Linked DNA regions of Homo sapiens: region 2 is linked to region 1. Evidence: promoter capture Hi-C in 16 types of primary human blood cells and fetal thymus (Javierre and others, 2016). All regions are on one chromosome and are shown on one strand. Each heading gives the region's core, a stretch centred on a gene start or on the middle of the fragment in contact. The rest is flanking DNA. Distances are from core to core; before and after follow the strand shown. Region 1 holds the start of DDX1 (DEAD-box helicase 1). Region 2 holds the start of LPIN1 (lipin 1).

Region 1 (2,591 bases), core at 69-2,568:
AAACTCAGAATATGGTTCCCAACTCTGTACTTCTAACCCTATTCTATCTTTTTTATTTTTTATTTTTTTGAGACAGACTCTCCCTCTGTCGCCCAGGCTAGAGTGTAGTGGCACGATCTCAGCTCACTGCAGCTTTCGCCTCCCAGGTTCATGTGATTCTCATGCCTCAGCCTCCGGAGTAGCTGCAACCCTATTCTTTTTTCTTTTTTTTTTTTTTTGAGACGGAGTCTCGCTCGGTCACCCAGGCTGGAGTGCAGTGGCGCGATCTCGGCTCACTGCAACCTTCGCCTCCTGGGTTCAAGCGATTCTCCTGCCTCAGCCTCCCGAGTAGCTGGGACTACAGGCATGCACCACCACACCCGGCTTCTTCTGTGTGTGTGTGTGTGTGTGTGTGTGTGTGTATTTTTTGTAGAGAAGGGGTTTCACCGTGTTAGCTAGGATGGTCTCGACCTCCTGACTTCGTGATCCGCCTGCCTCGGCCTCCCAAAGTGCTGGGATTACAGGCGTGAGCCCCCGCGCCCGGCCGCTGCAACCCTATTCTATCTTGCCTGAGGGTTCCACTTTTCTCCATGACACTCTGGGGCAGGCTACAGATAGCACAGCACGCGCCCTCGCATTGCGCAGATGTGGCTCAGATCCCACGCTGCCATTCGGTAGATATGTGTCTTTAGATAAGTGACTTAACTTTCCCGAATTTTAGAGTCCTCATCTAAAGATTCTAATACCTTCCTGACAGAGTGAGTGTCTGGTTGGGAGGATTCCTCATTTACTTTCCCCATCTCTCTGCAAAGAGAAAGGAGTTAAAATTGCATGGAAGTCAAACCCGAAATTATAAAAGCGACATCAAACATGGGTGAAGGGAGGGAGACCTAAATCATTACTTAGTTTAAAAAAAAAATGTAACAAATACCTACTGGCTGCCAGGCACTCACTGGCATTGGTGCTCAGGGCAATGAATCCAGTCCATCTCTCCGGGTCATTCACACACCAAGGCCCTGCTCACCTTTGGAAAGCTGGGGGACTGAGTGGGGAGGGCACGGTGTGGTGTCAGCCTGAGCCCACTGGATGACCCTAATCACCAAACATCTGCTTCCTTCTCTGTAGCTGTGACCCTGATACCGCGTGGTGTGCTCCGAACACATGGTGCCCAGAACGAAGGCGGCGTCCAGAAGCCCTAGGTCCCAGAGGTCCGCTCAGCGGCAGGCGCATAAGGCGGGGCCGGCGCGGGCCTTTCCTTCCATCGGAACCGTTCTCCCGGGGCTGAGTCCCTGCCCGGACTCCGAACGCCGAAGACCAGGGGCCGGAAGCGCGCGCCGCCACTGCCACGCCGTGTCAGTCGGGAGGGAGGGAGCGAGCAGGCGAAGCCGCGGAGGACGGGGTGAAGATGGCGGCCTTCTCCGGTGCGTTTGTGGAAACTCTGGGGGTGGTGGGGCGGCTTGTTGCACGCCTCAGCCCTGGGGCCGCCCGCGGAGAGCTAAAGGGGCGGGAGCGGACAGGGGTCAGGGAGACAGAAGGGCGCTGTCCGCTGCAGTCCCTGATGGACCCGCGTTGCGGGATCAGGGGCGGCCGCGGCTCGGGTTCGGAGGACGATTCTTCCCAGGAGCGGGCCGGAACGTCCCTCCCCCTGCCCTTTCCCTTCTACCAGTCTCCACTTGGCTTTCCTGCCAGTGCACCTTCGGCTGCAAAATCTAGGCGGCGGCGTTGCTCTGGCGGCTCCCAGACGCCTGGGCCTCCTGCCTCTTAACGTGGCAGTGACCCTTTGGGAACCCTTTTCTGCCCGCGGCTCATCTGGGCTTGGCCAGGCAGAGAGGCGAGACGGCGTGGGGAGGAGTCATTGGGGAAAAATGACGATCCTGCCTCTGTCCAGTTTTTTCAGGCCCTTCCAAAACGTCCCAGGCATAAACCTGATCTTTATTTGTTCTTAAACGTTGTTATATCAACATTAATGTTCAGTGTTGAAGCTAAAGGGAAAGCATTTTCATTAACGTACGCACCAGTCCAACATAAGTTTGGAAAATTCATATTTATTTGCCGTCTGCTACCCTCCTTTATTCCAAATATGATTTGATATGGCTTATCGAACCCTACAGTTGATATTTTCGCCTCTTGCTTTATCATCCTCCTGTTAGGCATCCAGTTTTAGGAAGCTGTAATCAGCCTTAAATGCGCTAAACGTGATACATTTATGTAGCACTTATGTAACGTTTATTGCTATATAAATGTATCACGTTAGGCCTAATGTCCTTTAATGTTATTAACTTTTTAAGATGACTTCAGATGTAGTATTTTATATTTTTTAGTTTTCTTCTGTAAGAATATTAGGAATTCCATATCTCCAGTCATGTAAGATATTTTTTTTCTTTTTTGGGGGGGAGAATGGGGGGGTGGGGGGATGTAGTCTCCTTCTGTCGCCCCAGCTGGAGTGCAATGGTGTGATCTTGGCTCACTGCAGCCTCCACCTCCCAGGTTCAAGCAATTCTCCTGCCTCAGCCTCCTGAGTAGCTGGGATTACAGGCGCCTACCACCATGCCCTGCTCATTTTTGTATTATTAGTAGAGACGGGGGTTTCACCATGTTGGCCAGGCTGGTCT
Region 2 (2,591 bases), core at 27-2,526, 3.8 Mb before region 1:
ATGGAGTGGAGGGGTGACTTTTTAAAGAAGTAAATTAGATCATATAATTCCCAGGTTTAAAATTCTTTTTGGACCAGGCGTGGTGGTTCACACCTGTAATCTCAGCACTTTGGGAAGCCAAGGTGGGAAGACTGCTTGAGCCCAGCAGTTTGAGACCAGCCTGGGCAACATAGGGAGACCTGGTCTCTACAAATAGTTTGAAAAATTAGCTGGGCGTGGTGGCATGCACCTGTGGTCCCAGCTACTTGAGAGGCTGAGGCAGGAGGATTGCCTGAGGCCAGAAGGTGAAGGCTGCAGTGAACCGAGATTGTGCCACTGCACTGTAGCTTGGGTGACAGAGTGGGACCCTGTCTCAAAAAGAATTGGTTTGGAATAACATTTAAATAATACCTAAACTCCTTGCCTTGGCCTACAAGACCTGAATATTTGGCCCCTGCCTTCCCTCCAGCCCACAGCACCGGCCCCAGGACCTTTGCACCTGCCATTTCTGCTCTCCAGAAAGCCCTGCCTCCTCCCCATCTTTGTAGTCATAGGTGTTTCTTGTCATTTAGAGTTTCAGTTCAAATATGACACCCTCCCATTGATGGAAATCATTTCACCACCAGACGTTATGTGGCTCATTGTTTATCCGCTGCCTGCCTCCCGGCTGGAGAGGCGCAGGGAGCTGCCTGTCCCTCCTGTTCAGAGCCACCGTTCCGCACCTGGACCACCGCTTGGCAGAGGCGGGAGTGGAGGCTGTCACCATCAGGATGAAGGACAGGGGTGGCCCGGCGTGGAGAAGCTAAGAAGAGATGGCGATAGGTCAACGCGATTGCGCCTTTAAGGTGGAAGAAACGAAGGGCGAGGGTCAGTAAAGTCAAGGACGGGCTCAGATCCCGCCACTGGTGATAAGCGGGACCCATAGGACCGACGTGATCGCGGCCAGGCCCTGGGTGGTTTACCTGGACTTTTACCTGGCTGCCTTTTCTCTGCACCCCTCCGTCCTCACTCCCCCAGTCATCGGCATAGGTCAAGTCAGAGTGTTGAAGAAACACACGAGTTTGGCTCTGGAAAGGAAAATCAGAAAGGCGGCCTAAGGGGCCCCACCCCCAGGAACGCTAAGATAGGCGGCCAGGGGTGAGCGGGCAGGGCCGGCCAGCAGGCCCTGAAAGCAGCCGGGCCACCAGCGCGTCCCGAGTCCCCCTCGCACCGCCCCGCTTGCCCCGCCCCTGCCCTCTGCCCCCGCCCCTGCCCCGCCCCCGAAGGCGAGCTGCGCTGACAGCCGGCGGCGGGCTGGGTGTTTGCAATACAAAGGCGGCCACGCGCGGCGCCGCTCGGTGAGTAGCCGCCGCCTCCAGCCTCCCGCTGTGGAGCAGGGGCCGCAGCCTCGGGTTAGGCGGGGCGGGGCGCGGCGCCGGGGCGCTGAGGACGCGTGGCGAGGCGGGGGCTCGGCCCCGGGGCCCGAGGACCGACGGCCGGGCTACGTCCCCGGGGCCCTCTACGGGAAGTGGTTCGGGGGAGGGAGGCGGGGAAACAGGCCCCGGAGGCCGGGAGGGCCTCGCGAGCATCCCTCGGGCCTGGCTTTCCTGACGCGCCGCGAGGCCCGGTGTGGGCCCGGCTTGGCTGATCTCGAGCGGCGTAGGGGCCACTGGGGGCTGCCGCGCAGTCCCAGAACCGCGGGGACTAGCTCCAGCCGGCCAGCGCGGGTGCGTCCTGGCTCTGCGCGATCATCCCCAGCTTTGCGCCGGGGACTGGGATGAGAGCCTTTCTTTCCCCCGGAGTTAGGATTCCAGCGCTGCAGTTGAGGAAACTGAGGCTCAGGGAGGTTGACCTCTGTGCCCAAGGTCATACAGTTGCCGGGCGGCAGGGCAGGCTGAGCCCAGGTTGGAATCCCGGTTCTCATATTACAGCTCTCCCCTGCGAGGCCTCTGCACCTTTCTTGCAGCCTAGGAGGTGCTAGGCCTAGTGAGCTCCGTCAGCTGCTCCTGCACGTAATTTTATTATGGGCAAGGCCAGGAAAATGCAGGATGAGAAGTAACGTTTTGGGAGTAACTTAAGTGCTGTGGAGCTAGAGTAGGTAATTTGTGTGGTCAGTAGTTGCTGGAGAAAGCAGATGTCAACCCTGTTTTTGATCAGCAAGCAGGAAACCAACTAAGACAACTGGCAGTATTAATTTGGAGATGTTTTAGAACCCGGCAGTTTCCCACAGGATAGAAGTGTTTTGGGAAATCAAAGCTTGTAGCCGTTTTTTTAATTGGGGGTGTTGTGGTATGGTGGTCTAGGGGTAGTGATTGTGAGATTGACTGTTTATCCTTTGTTCCGTAATTTGGGTCTTATTAATGAAAGTAAGCAGTTGAGGAATGTATAGTATTTGAGAAATAAGCACATCCACACATGAACACTTTTCTTGCTCCCAGATTCTTGTTGAAAGGTGTAACAGTTGGATTTATGATTATATACTTTGATAGCACTTCACGTTTGCCAGCATTTGTTATTGAGTGTTTTTGTGCATGGGTTGTGTGTTTTGGCGCTTATTATTCCTATTTGCATGTGGGGCCCTGTGGTCCTGTGGAGCCAGGCCTGGATATAGCCCTGGACTCGGGTCGGGAGGT

Evidence for each region. Contacts are between HindIII fragments. The CHiCAGO score rates a contact against its expected background, and 5 or more counts as called.
Region 2: the fragment with the promoter of LPIN1 here is called in contact with the fragment with the promoter of DDX1 in region 1 in 2 of 17 cell types (non-activated CD4 T cells and naive CD8 T cells); the score reaches 10.2 in non-activated CD4 T cells.

Annotation. Positions count from the first base shown.
Region 1 is chr2:15,590,550-15,593,140 of GRCh38, forward strand. It overlaps DDX1 (DEAD-box helicase 1), which reads left to right and starts at 1,319. Exons shown (of 26, transcript NM_004939.3): 1 at 1,319-1,400. The coding sequence starts at 1,385. LOC124905975 (a long non-coding RNA gene) reads right to left here and starts at 1,220. Exons shown (of 2, transcript XR_007086224.1): 1 at 911-1,220; 2 at 1-783. RefSeq lists an enhancer at 1,358-1,417. The HindIII fragment of the contact is 5,190 bases long and covers 1-2,591 here.
Region 2 is chr2:11,745,356-11,747,946 of GRCh38, forward strand. LPIN1 (lipin 1) reads left to right here and starts at 1,277. Exons shown (of 21, transcript NM_001349206.2): 1 at 1,277-1,316. LOC124907735 (a long non-coding RNA gene) reads right to left here and starts at 104. Exons shown (of 2, transcript XR_007086220.1): 1 at 1-104. RefSeq lists enhancers at 1-17, 2,529-2,591 and a silencer at 956-1,525. The HindIII fragment of the contact is 2,521 bases long and covers 1-2,212 here.